Regions from separate parts of the Homo sapiens genome. Here region 1 is linked to region 2. The links are contacts of gene promoters, found by promoter capture Hi-C in blood cells and fetal thymus (Javierre and others, 2016). All regions are on one chromosome and are shown on one strand. Each heading gives the region's core, a stretch centred on a gene start or on the middle of the fragment in contact. The rest is flanking DNA. Distances are from core to core; before and after follow the strand shown. Region 1 overlaps PIGK (phosphatidylinositol glycan anchor biosynthesis class K). Region 2 holds the start of USP33 (ubiquitin specific peptidase 33).

What was found. The method cuts DNA at HindIII sites, captures the fragments that hold promoters and counts their contacts. A CHiCAGO score of 5 or more calls a contact.
Region 1: a contact is called between a fragment that was not itself captured here and the fragment with the promoter of USP33 in region 2, in 1 of 17 cell types (monocytes). The highest score is 6.6, in monocytes.

The regions. Positions count from the first base shown.
Region 1 is chr1:77,140,524-77,147,285 of GRCh38, reverse strand. All of the region lies in intron 9 of PIGK (phosphatidylinositol glycan anchor biosynthesis class K), which reads left to right. Among named protein-coding and RNA genes, the nearest start is that of PIGK, 76 kb to the left of the region's middle. The HindIII fragment of the contact is 6,890 bases long and covers 1-6,418 here.
Region 2 is chr1:77,757,110-77,764,276 of GRCh38, reverse strand. USP33 (ubiquitin specific peptidase 33) reads left to right here and starts at 4,425. Exons shown (of 24, transcript NM_201624.3): 1 at 4,425-4,634. RefSeq lists a silencer at 4,236-4,515. The HindIII fragment of the contact is 6,279 bases long and covers 3,668-7,167 here.

The sequences.
Region 1 (6,762 bases), core at 1,724-4,223, 620 kb after region 2:
TGTGGGAGGGACCCGGTGGGAGATAATTGAATCATGGGGGTGGTTTCCCCCATACTGTTCTCATGGTAGTGAATAAGTCTCACGAGATCTGATGGCTTTATAAGGGGCTTCTGCTTTTGCTCCCCTCTCATTCTCTCTTACTGCCACCAAGTAAGAAGCGCCTTTTGCCTTCTGCCATGATTTTGAGGCCTCCCCAGCTATGAGGAACTGTGAGTCCATTAAACCTATTTTTCTTCCCAGTCTCGAGTGTGTCTTTGTCAGCAGTGTGAAAACAGACTAATGCACCTCCCCTCCCCTCCTTCCTGTCTCTCCCTTCTTTCCCTCATCTTCCCTCACAGGGTCTTTCTCTCTTGCCTATGCAGAGTCATAGCTCACTGTACCCTTGAACTTTCAGGCTTAGGTGATCCTCCCACCTCAGCCTCCCAAGTAGCTGGGACTACAAGCTCAAGCTGCCATGCCTGGCTAATTTTTCTTTTACTTTTTTTTTTTTAGACAGAGTCTCGCTGTGTCGCCCAGGCTGGAGTGCAGTGGCACAATCTTGGCTCACCGCAACCTCCGCCTCCCGGGTTCTAGCAATTCTCCTGCCTTAGCCTCCTGAGTAGCTGGGACTACAGGTGCATGCTGCCATGCCTGGCTAATTTTTTTGTATTTTAGTAGAGACGGGGTTTCGCCGTGTTGCCCAGGCTGGCCTCGAACTCCTGAGCTCAGGCAATCCACCTGCCTCTGCCTCCCAAAGTGCTGGGATTACATGTGTGAGCCATCTTGCCAGGCCTCTTTTACATTTTTTTTAGAGACAGGGTCTTGCTATGTTATCCAGGCTGATCTAAAACTACTGGCCTCAGGCGATCCTCCTGCTTGTGTCTCCCAAAGCACTGGGATTAGAGGCATGAGCTGTGGTGCCAAGCCTCATTTTCTTAGTGATGTCTTTTGAAGGGTAGAAATTTAAATGTTGGTGAAATCCACTTATTTTTTCTTTATGCTTAGTACCTATTATGCAAGCAGTCTTTGCTTAACCAGGGTCATTAGGATTTTCTTGTTTTCTTCTAGAAGTTTTATAGTTTTAGCTTTTATGTGTAGGTCTGTGATCCATTTTGAATTAATTTTTGAGTATTGTGTGAGGTAGGGGTTAAGGTTCATTTTTTTTTCCATATGGACATCCAAATATTCCAGTAACATTTGTTGAAAAAATTACAGATGGTCTCCAACTTACTTACAATGGTTCGACTTATCATTTTTGACTTCATAGTGGGTTTATCATGGTATTAAATTCATTTTCAATTTACAGTATTTTTTATTTACAATGAGTTTATTGGGACATAACTCCATCATAAGTTGAGCAGCATCTGTATTTATTCCTCATTGAATTATGTTGATCCCTTTGTCAAAAAATCATGTTTTGGGGGTCTATTTCTGGACTTTATTTTGTTGCATTGTAATATTTCTATCTTTATACCACTATTACATTCTTGATTATTGTAGTTTTATAGAAACTCCTGAAATTATATAAGTCCTCCAAATTTTTTTTTTCATTTTCAAGGTTGTTTTCAGTGTTCTAGGTTCTTTGCATTTTCATATAAGTTTATGAATCAGCTTGTAGGTTTCTTAAAGTAAAAAAAGAAAAAGAATAAAAGCCTACTGGGATTTTGATTGGGATTGAATTAACTTTATATTGGGCTGTATCACAGCTTAACAGTATTGAGTCCTCACAATCCGTGAGTATATCTCTACAGTTATTTAGATCTCATGTAATTTCTCTATATTGTTTTATTGTAGATATTTCCTACACATTTTATTAAATTTATTCCTAAACATTTTGTATGTTATTTTTAAAACATTACATTTGTTTGTTGCTCAAATGCAGAAGTATTACAATTGATTTTATATTGACTGTTTTTCTGAGATCTTATTGATTTGGGGTCAACCCAATTCCAATCAAAACCCCAGCAGGCTTTTTATTTTTTTATTTTTCGGTAGAGATTGACAAGCTGATTCCAAAATTTATATGGAAATGTAAAGGACCTACTATAGTATATATTACATTATTGAACATATGGATTCTAGTCTATTTATAATATTTACTAGGAAATTAAATCAAAAGTTAAATTTACATATTCAATAGTAACATCTCTTTGAGATTCGGGTAAAATTGATTGTGAAGAATATGAAACTATGATCACATGATTCGCTTAAAATTGCTGATAGTAAATTGATACAATTATAAAACTTTATGAACCAAAAATTCACCAAAATGATTCAAGTAACAGTTGACAGGATTTCTCCTATACTTTTCTACATGTTACTATATTTTTCAAAGTGATTAATTTACTCATCAGTATAATTCCACATTATCTCAGCATTTTATTTTGTCATTTATTTTATATTGTTATTTACAGCTGTTTGTCACTTCAGTTATTCAAAAGCTCATTAAAATGAAATTTCAGAAATTAGATGTGATTCGTTTAATTTATAAAGGCACCAAAACATAATTAAATTACTCATTTTGTCATTTTGCATATGGATAAAGTTCTTATTGTTATAGTTTCAAAATGGATTGGTCATATCATGGGTAGTTTTTTGTTTTTGTTTTTTAGCAGTTTATTTCACTGCCCTATCTGTAATTAACAAAAGCGTCTATTGAGTTGCTTTATGACTTCTAAGAAATCAGTATATATAAATAGTATAGCACAACATAGTACCATATCCCTTTGTGTTAATAAAACATCTCTAAATATAAATTGGCAAATATGTTTACTAGGAGTAGTAGTTTCCAACTAATGTTTATTAATATTCTTAAATATGTCAAAGCAAAGTTAATTTTAATTTAAACACTAAATGCATAGCACCTAAACTTTTTGATTGTATAAAATCTACAAATCATATGATATTTATAAAACAATTAGAGGCAAATTCATTTGGATTTTTAGACGATAAAGTTCTGTATCATATGGAAAAATAAATTCTGAGACCCTTAAGGTTTCTTTTAGTTCTTTGATTTATGTCTTTTTGATTTATGTGACTCTTCTGATCTTTGCACTAATTGTAATATTATTGTTCCACTCCACTAAATTAAATCTTACCATTCTAAATGAGTTAACAGACTTACTTATTGTCTACTATCTGACATTATAGGGGATATTACAATATAATAATAAAAGCAAAGTCATTGGAATCAATAAGCTCCTAAATTCAGATCCTCTGCCGTTTACTAGCTATGTAACCTTGGGAAAACTACTGGACCTCTTCTGTCCTCAGTTTCTGCATCTGTAAAATGAGAATAATAACTCTACCTCATATAGTTATTAAAGTAATTTTTATTTTGCTTAGAAAGCACTTAATTCTATGCCTCAAATATAGTGAAGCACTCAGTAAGTGTTAAGTATTATTGAGAGAACTTATCTCACACACTGATAAAAATTAATTATTGCTAGAATTCTATTTGAACTGCATTTTAGCCATTTAGCTGGTTATCAATTCTGCTTTCAGTAATATAAACTAGTTATTTCATATTTGGTGGATTCTCATTTATAGAAATACTATACAGAATTTGGAAATTGTGTTGTACCAGAAGATGGCAGTAGTATCATATATTTGTATATAGGGAACTGTCTAATATTTTTAAATGCTGGCGATCAAGGTAGGTTATACCTTCAAATAAATTATGATTGTTGTTTTTTCAGGCAACTGGTAGAGAAAAATAATTTTGATATTGAATTGTCAGTTTATAAAGGTTGGTAAAAATTTCTCTCTATATGTAAATTTTTTTATATGGCTTTTATTATGGGGGAAAAATGGACCTGGTAAATGATACAGACCTGCGGTCTTTGCTTATGATATCCTTTATGTTGGATATCAATTTTGGGTCACAAAAATTTTTTATAAAGGATGGTAAAAATTTCTCTCTATATGTAAGTGTAGGCTTTAAAAAAACCTAACAATATGGAAGTTTATCTATGAAATAGATGAATCTATCAGATACTTATGGCATATTTTTAGATATTAGTTTCCATGTTATTAAATACTTGACCAAGAAATTGAAGGGTCAAAAAAAGTTAAGGGGTGTTTGTGTGTGAGGATTATTTATTACTAATTAGTAATAAGACAATCTTTATTTCTAGCTTATCATTGGGGAAAGTGTATTCCATTTTAAAAATTGATTTATACAATAACACTTTAGGATTGTAGCTGTTAGGTAAAACAAGAAGGAAAAGACATTTACATTAATATATAAATCTGTAATCCCATTTCAGAAATGTCAATTTTTGTTGGCATAATGGTGTGCCTTGCTACTGGGTTTTCAAATATTCTACAAGTGAAGTATGGCCAAATTGCCCCCTCCTAGTGCTAGAAGAAACTTTTAAGGCAACATGATCTAGTAGAAAGAGCACGGAGATGAATGGACTTGCATTCAAATTTTGCTTTTTTTGGGTTCCCAATATGGTTTGACTCTGTGTCCCCACTCAAATCTCATCTGGATTGTAATCCCCATGTGTGGAGAGAAGGAGGAAGGTGATTGGGTCATGGTGTGATTTCCCCCATGCCATTCTTGTGATAGTGAGTGGGTTCTTATAAGATCTGATGGTTTTATAAGTGTCTGGCCTTTCCCCTGCTTGCACTTCTCTCTCCTGCCACCATATGAAGAAGGTCCTTGCTTCCCCTTTGCCTTCTGCCATGTTCGTAAGTTTCCTAAGGCCTCCCCAGCCATGTGGAAGTGTGAGTCAATTAAAATGCTTTCCTTTATAAATTACCCAGCTTGGATATTTCTTTATAGCAGTGTGAAATGGACTAATACAGTACCTTATTTAATCTCTCTAAGACTCAGATACTTTATCTGTCATAGGGTGATCTACTCTCTACCTTCTGAGTTATTTTGAAGATTGAAGGTAGTGTATATAAAATGAACATACTTTGTCAATGCCTTTTTAAAAGTGTGCCATCTAAAACTCATCACAGTCATATTGATGTCTTCCTCCAGTGCAAGAGATACAATGAGCAATACAATGCCATCTTTATTTGGTGTATTATAGTTCTGTTTCTATAGCTTGATTTGTGTTTTTATCAGCCATGCCATCTATAGCCCATTCTGACAGGAATTATTATTAGCCTGACTTTCCCATACTTACCAGTGTAGCTGACTTAAAAAACAAAACAAAACAAAACAAAAAACAACTCAATTTCAGGATTTATGCCTATTTCTTTATGTTTTTATCTTACTAGTGTTAATTCAGTATTATAGCCTATTAGTCTTTTTTAATACTCATTCTGACATTGCCATATTAGTATTGAACTATTTATGGCTTTTATTGTGGGGGAAAAATGGACCTGGTAAATGATACGGATCTGTGATCTTTGCTCATGATATCCTTGATGTTGGATACCAATTTTGGGTCACAGCTGTTAACTTTTATTTGTTAGAAAGCTGATTTCTCAGGGCTTAATCAAAAAAATCAAAATTTAATAATAAAAATTTTTTGAATAATGCCAAAGTGGACCTAAAAAGTCAAAGTAAGGTTATTTTTGTGAGCTTTTATTAAATTAATATAGTAAATATTGTTTAAAGTATGTTTTTCTACAGATGTTATAGATAAATTACTATCAAGTAATTAAAGATTTTCATTTTGAAATTATTTTTCTCATAAAAATAAAGGAAAATCAGGGGACTTACCAACATTGACGAGCTGTATTATGCTCCATCTTTCTCTGCTTTAAATTCATTCATTATATACAAAGTTCTTGTTATACTCAAAGATATTCCAGGCTTGGTACTTTCTTTAATTTGATGAAATTGTGACTTATTATTCTGAAAGTACTTTTACTAAGGGAAGCGTGCAGCTTATATTGTATGGAATGCCTTTTTCAGTTCCTTCATTTTAACTTCAATATTAAGAGCCGTTCTCTGTTCCTTATCTGATGGCATCAGCTTCTAATATTAATATGTTCTAGTATGATTTCCCAAGAAGTAAAGAGCAGACAAAATAATGAAATATAAGAGTTCTTAGGATATGATCTCAGAATACCTATGTCACATGATAACTAAGTGTGCTGGCTGAGAATTATATTGTACTACACTGCAAGTAGTAATGGACTTAGTTTGCTTGGCCTGAACTATATTGCCAGCCAGAGATTCAGAGATACTTGGTAAGCAGTTTAAACTGGGTTTTATTAAAATTAATATATCTAATTTTTATAATGTTTATTTCTTTATAGCAAAGATGTGTATATTTAGAGCATGTATATTGAGAGATGGAGCAAGAAAATAGTATTTTATATTTCTCTTAGGTGATTTAAAGATTGCATGCTTTATAGCAATCTTTGGTACTTTTCCTTTAAGGTACTGAAACAGGTGATAAGGAACTATACAGTGTGACATACAGTTGTAACTACTGTAATTGCTATGCATAAGCAAGGTATTTTAAAAGCTTATATCTAACTAAAGGGAAAGCTCTAACTTATGCTTTAAAAAATAAGTGATATTCACAATGATTTCTCTTTTGCATGTAAAAACACTGATACGTATCTTCTAAATCATAGAAAATGATTAAAATTAATCTTGTATGGTTTTAGTGTCAAATGTAGTGGTTTTTTTTGTTTTGTTTTTCTGCTATTTCTTTGAAAGTTAGATATAGTAAAACCTTGAATATCCAGAAATTAGGTAACTTCTGGTAATAAAAGAGTACATGACGTTCCCATGAGTTAACACTAAATATGAAAAAACCCACTTTTACCTTAGATGTTGTATTAGGTTGTTCTTGCACTGCTATAAAG
Region 2 (7,167 bases), core at 3,176-5,675:
TGTGGAGGGGCACAAAACAAAAAGCCAATAAGCCAGGGAGAAGGGAGAACAAGGTAGAGGAAATGGCAGAGAATTTTTGATATTGCACTGGACAGGATTTTTTTCTAATACTAGGGGCAAAAGGCCACTTTTTTTTATTACTAGAAAATTACTGGAGGACTTTTTTTTTTTTTTTTTCTGACAGAGAGGCTCTTGCTCTGTCACCAAGCTGGAGTACAGTGGCACGATTATAGCTCACTCACTGCAGTCTCAAACTCCTGGGCTCAAGGGATCCTCCTGCCTCAGCCTCTGGAGTAGCTGTACTACAGGCATGTGCCATCGTATCCTGGTATTATTTTTTAAAATTTTTTGTAGAGGCAGAATTTCACTTTGTTAACCAGGCTGGTCTCGAACTCCTGGGCTCAACTGATCCTCCCACCTTGGCTTTGAAAAGTGTTGAATTATAGGCATGAGCCAACACACCTGGCCTGGTGGACTTTTTAATTATGTGACAGTGAGCGGAAAAGCAAAAATGCTTTGCCTAAGATTTGTTTTAAAATATATTTTTCTTTTCTTTCTTTCTTTTTTTTTTGTTCTTGTTTTTGTTTTTTGAGAGACAGGGTCTCACTCCTATTGCCCAGGCTGGAGAGGGGTGGCACAGTCATGGCTCATGACAGTCTTAATTTCCTGGGCTCAAGTGATTCTCTCACCTCACCCTCCATAGTAGCTGGGACTACAGGCATGATCCACCATGCCCGGCTAATTGTTGCAATTTTTTGTAGAGACAGGGTTTCGCCATGTTGCCCAGGCTGGTCTTGAACTCTGGTCTCAAGCAGCCGCAGCTTTCCAAAGTGTTGGGATTACAGGCATGAGCTACTGCGCCCTGCCCAGAAACATATTTTATTTTACTTTGAGACAGAGTTTTGCTCTTGTTGCCCAGGCTGGAATGCAGTGGTGCCATCTCAGCTCACTGCAACCTCCGCCGCCCGGGTTCAAGCGATTCTCCTGCCTCAGCCTCCCGAGTAGCTGGGATTATAGGTACCTGCACCACACCCAGCTAATTTTTGTATTTTTGATAGAGATGGAGTTTCATCATGTTGGCCAGGCTGGTCTCGAACTCCTGATCTCAGGTGATCCGCCCAACTCGGCCTTCCAAAGTGCTGGGATTACAGACGTGAGCCACTGGGCCCGGCCCAAAGACATATTTTAAAGCCCCAGCTTAAATCAGAGTTTCTCAATAGTGGCATTAATGATGTCTGGGACTCTCTTGTAATATCAATGCAAAGGAATGTTACTAATTCTTTCTCCCACCAATCCTCTTCAGAAATATTGCCAACTATCCACTCAGGGGACAAAACCACCCCCAGTTGAGTGCCAACAAGTTTTTGAGTCCTTCAATGCTAGGCTCTGGGAATATTGTGAATAAGATAAATACTCACTGCTCCCATTGAGGAGTTCAGGAGAGACAGGCAAAAAATTAAGTATACCAAAAAATTTAAGATAATTACAAATTATAATACATTCTCTAAAGGAAGCAAGCAGGATGCTGAAACCGGAAATAATGGGGTAAAGAGTTCTGTATTAAACAGAGAATATCTAGGTAGGAGTTAGCCAGGTGAAGGAAGGATAGAGGTTGGGAGTATCTGTAAAATTGTCTCTAAGGAAACAGCATTTACAAAGCTTTATTTAGTCTCAGGTACATAAGCACCAAAATGTATATTTTCTACGTTGCTATTTTTTACTTGCCATTACTCAGTTACAAAAATGAGAAGGTATTTGTTTTTGATAGGACCATTCAATTGTCTTCCTCCCTCCCTGTTTGTATCTCTCCTTCTTTTCTTCTTTTTCTTCCTACTCTTCATTTCTTCTTTTTTCTCCCTTTCATTAGAAGAGACTTCTTTTCTTCTTTTTCTTCCTACTCTTCATTTCTTCTTTTTTCTCCCTTTCATTAGAAGAGACTTCAGTACCTGGCCTGATGCACAACTCTAAGTCATACTATTTACATTATATTCTCCATGAACGGCACCTCTAGAATTCTGTTCCAGAATCAGTATGACTCAGCTGGGTGTCCACACACCCTCTAGAATTCTACTCCAGAATCAGTGACTCAGCTGGGTGTCCACACTTTGGAATGTATAATCTATTCTCTCAAGGGGAAGTTGATTGATTTATTTCCTAATGATAGTGTTCTTCCTTATAAGCCATTATAAGCCATCAGGAGATATTGTTTGAAGAAAAGTAAAAGATAAGCAATCTGGACTGTGGGATGAAAGGATAAACACCCAAGGGTGGGAGGCAGGAATTCACGGAAGTTAAAAGTGGGAGAGGTATTACATTATATTCTATCAGAGTGAGTTTGTTTTGTGAGAACTTGTCCACTGCAAGGACTTCACTTGGTGTCCACCTGAGAAGTACTTGCCTACTATTATCTACGCACTAGTCTCAAACTCCCGATCTCAGGTGATCTGCCCTGCTGGGCCTCCCAAAGTGCTGGGATTACAGGCATGAGCCACCGCACCTGGTGATCTTGAACAGCCTTGTCAGTTGTCTTCCTTGCATTGACACTGCCCTAGAACTCCTCCAGGACAGGTAAGCCCAGAGAGAACCTTGGTTACTAAGCAGGATGGTGGTGGGACTTGGAGGCTGAATTGAATTTGCTAGGACACTGTAAGAACAGAATACCCCTGATACATTTTCAATAGAAGAATTTCTGGGGAAGTGACTTTTGTCTATTTTTCTATTTGGTCGCCTGTTTTTTTAAAAATTGATTTCTGGAAATACATATGGAGTTGAGCCCCTTTTCAATTATATGTATTTCAAATAAATTCTATTTGCTGGCCTAACTTTTCTTCTCTCTCTGTCTCTCTTCTTTTTTTTTCTTCTGTAGATCTCCTCTGTGGACAGCTTTTTTTTTTTTTTTTTTTTTTTTTGAGACAGGGTCCTCCTCTGTTGCCCAGGCTGGAGTTCAGTGGCTCTATCTTGGCTCACTGCAACCTCTGCCTCCTGGGTTCAAGTAATTCTCCTGCCTCAGCCTCCTGAGTGGCTGGGATTACAGGCACGCGCCACCACACCTGGCTAATTTTTGTATTTTTCGTAGAGATGGGGGTTTCACCATGTTGGTCAGGCTGGTCTTGAACTCCTGACCTCAGGTAATCCACCCGCCTTGGCCTCCCAAAATGCTGGGATTACAGGTGTGAGGCTCTGTGCCCGGCTGGAGACAACTTTTCATCTCCTAACGGCATCTTTTTTTTTTTTTCCCAGAGAATATCTCACTTTGTCACCCAGGCTGAAGTGCAGTGGCACAATCATGGCTCACTGCAACCTCAAACTCCTGGTCTCAAGTGATCCTCCACTCTTAGCCTCTTGAGTAGCTGGGACTACAGGTGCCTGTCACCATGCCTGGCGAATTTTTGTATTTTTAGTAGAAATGGGGTTTCGCCATGTTGCCCAGGCTAGTCTCGAACTCAAGTGATTCACCCGCCTCGGCCTCCCAAAGTGCTGGGATTACAGGCATGAACCATGGCGCCTGCCTGTGAAACTTCTATTCTGTGAAATTTCTATTCTCCTCAGTGAACCGAGGATAGGCAATCATTTGTGGTGCAAATTGAGGCCTGAGTGTCAATCCCTACCTAGAATTTTGTATCATGGTTAATTTATTTCATTTTTACCATAAAAATAAGTAGAAGCTTTTATATTTTCTACCTATTCCAATGGAGACTGAGCATCTTGCATGATACTTTGGTACATGCTCCCATTTTGGAGACCAAAAAGTCAGATGTCATGAGACAGATTGAAACTGGCAATTTTAACAATTTTTTATTAATATAACCTTTTTTATTCATAGATTTGAACCTCAATCGAGTGCATTTTAACAGTTACATAATTAGAAGGCAGGACTCCTTCCATGCTCCAGGCATTAAGCAGATACTAAGGTTTCAATAAATATTTGATTTGATCCTCTTGATTTTAGCCTAAGGAGAAAATGGTGAGATAAATTTCTTCTTTGCATAGGTGGAAAAGGGAAACATAATTGCTTTCAGAGAATCTAGGTCCTAAGAAGTTGGGGGAAGAAAGATGAAAGGAGGAAATACAATGTTGAATTGGGATAAGTTAAGTCTAATATTTCTTTGCTCAAGTTTGGAAACCTGAGGCCCTTCAGTGGCCAGCCTTAATGCAGTTTTTGTAATGCATCGAGACAAGACCTTATAATGGTCGTAGTGTGTGACTGTGAAAGAGAAGGAGAAAACATGTGAAAAACGAAAAAAAAAAAGCTCACAGCCTCAAACTGCTGCACATACCCTGTACAGTTAGTTTGCAGTCAGAGTAGGGAGCCGGCCTGGGTCCCCGCACCTGGGCCTGGCTCCCGTGGCCCCGCCCCTGGGGCGGGCTCCCATCGAGGCTCCGCCCCCACCTCCCCTATCGCCGGAGACGCCTGCGGCGGCCCCGGAGACACCGGAAGGAGCCGCGGCTGCTGCGGGAAGTGGCCAGTTCAGGAGGCGGACCCCCCGAGGGCAGCGCTGCGGGGCCGTTTTCCGGCCCTCCTGACGCGACACTGCCCCTCTCCGAGAGCTGAGAAGGAAAAGAGGAGCTTGCGGAGGTGCGGCTGCAGGCCGTTGTTGGTCGAGCTGGCGGGTCCCGCGGGCCAGGCCGTGGAGGTGAGCGCGGCGCTGCTGGGAGGGGCGCGGGGCCCAAGGGCGTTTCGCTCGCGTCCGGGGTCCGGTCTCTGTTCTCGCTTCCGCGCGCTGGGGTTGCGGCCGCTGCAGCAGCCTCTTTTTCTTGGTCCTGGGTGGCGGCGGGTTCGCGGGCGGGAAGAAGGCCTTGGCCCCTCGGTGCTCTGCGTTGCAGAGATAATCTAGTGGTCGCCCTGTCAACGGTCGGTGGAGGATGGGAACCGGTCGTTGATTTGAGGAAGGGTCCTCAGGGGTTCTTCCCTGGAAGCGGGAGGTGCAGGTGAGCCCGAGAAGCGGGGGCTCTGCTCCCTTCCTCGGTCTCCCCACTCAGGCTTGCCAGTCCCTCTCAGTGGGTGACTGAAAGCCCTGCAGCGCGCCGGCTCCTGGGTTCTGGTTTCGCTTTTCGGCGCTGTTGAGGGGGCCGGCCCCGTTGTTTGTTGTTGTGAACGGAAAAACCGAGGTGTCATCGTCCCTGGAATTTTTCTTCGACCAATGTTTGATCTTGACTGAGAGGTTACCCCTTACCTTCTGTCCATCTGCAGCCTTTGTTTGGATGAAAGATCCATAGTGTGTGGTTTCCCAGACCTTTACTTATATTTCTCGTATACAAAACGCTCTTCATTTGAATATTTACAGGGTTTTACGTTGAGCTCTTGGACGATGAGATTTTCCTGGGTGTTTTGCACTCAAGTACCGTTGGAGTTTACATTCTCATAGAATCAGTATTAGGCCTGGAAAATTGAGCCAGAGGGTGAAATTCTGGCAGGAGCATAGACTTAAATTGAAGGTGAATTTTACCGTAACGATCTCTAGGCCTTTTGCTTAATAACTATGTGGATGTAGAGAATTTTTAAGTTTAATCAGATTATTTTTCCTTTAAGAAAAACGTGTTACAAAAAGTAACAAGGCCGTCCTAGTTCCGTTTTTCCTACTGTCTTATTTGGAAAGGTCTGACCAAGTCACATTATCGTCATAGGCTATTTGATTTGAGCATAATACAAATATTGTTAGTGAATTCATACTATTATAAATAAGAGAGAAAATAGGAATCTTAAAGACAATGCTAGTTTTATGAAAAAATAATAGAAATAGTTACACAATGCTAGGAGCTTTGTATTATTTCATTACTTTGGCAGGATTGAAAGAAAGGTCAGGGCTGGGCACGGTGGCTCACGCCTGTAATCCCAGCACTCTGGGAGGCCGACGATCACGAGGTCAGGAGATCGAGACCATCCTGGGTAATACGGTGAAACCCCGTCTGTACTAAAAATTACAAAAAATTAGCCGGGCATGGTGGCAGGTGCCTGTAGTCCCAGCTACTTGGGAGGCTGAGGCAGGAGAATGGCGTGAATCCGGGAGGCAGAGCTTGCAATGAGCCGAGATCATGCCACTGCACTCCAGCCTGGGCAGCAGAGCGAGACTCTGTCTCAAAAAAAAAAAAAAAAAAAAAAAGGACAGTACAAAAAATATTATTGGAATAAAATATTTGACCTGATATGTGCAAGAGGGATAGTCTACTTAAGATTGCTTCCTATTTATGATCTGGTTTATGGCCAGTTTCACTTTTTTTCTGTCTTTTCTGAACTTTTTATAACTTAACAGTAAGCAAGTCTTTTTATATAACTGCAGTTTAATGACATTAGATTGTAGTAAATAGGTGATTTTAAATATTTGAAATTCAGAATTGAGATGATAATTCTTACATTTATGTAGTAGTATTAGAATTTTCTGTGACCTTTCACTTACACAGTCTTACTTGATCCTCATGCCAGTCCTCTGAGCTCCGAATGCCAAGAAATAAAGTCTTTCCCCATGACAGAAACATTTCAAGATTGTGTAAGGATCAGAATTTCGTAAAGCCTGAAATAATGTTGCCAAAGCAGCTTTTGATACAGATTGGGAATTCAGATAGATTAAGATTGGAGCACTGTGAACTATAACATATGACAAGACTGTGGACTCTTCACAAGAAAATGAAGTACATAAAATGCTGAAAGATTTTTGGTGAGAAATGTGAAATGTAACCATTTCTAAAAAGGAAGGGAATAAGTAACAGCTCTATTTAGTGTAGTTTTTAAACTTTAAAAGTGTACATGTGTCTGCAGGAACATTTTGATAAGTGGGAAAACTCCAAAGAGTGTGAGATGAGTACAGTTGCTTTTAACTATCTATAAAAAGGCACATGAATTATGTGCTATATTGTATACTGAGAACTAGTCTTTAAGAAACAATATGTATATCAAAATAAATCATGCTGTCAAATGTTCAGAAGGTTAAGTTAGGTCAATATTTTGAGTCTACCAGGACAAGGCCCTTTGGAAAACAAAAAGAATGAAACGTGGTTTCTGCCTTCAAAGAACTTGTAGTCAAGTGAGGCAATTTTTTACACAACAGTAAATGCCTTATGAGTTTTTATAAAAGTTCCTTAGGAATTTAGGTGAGGTAGACATTACTTGTGATTGGGGCTTGGTGAAGGTAGTATTTGAGATGAGTGAGCTTTGAAAGGTAAATATTGGAG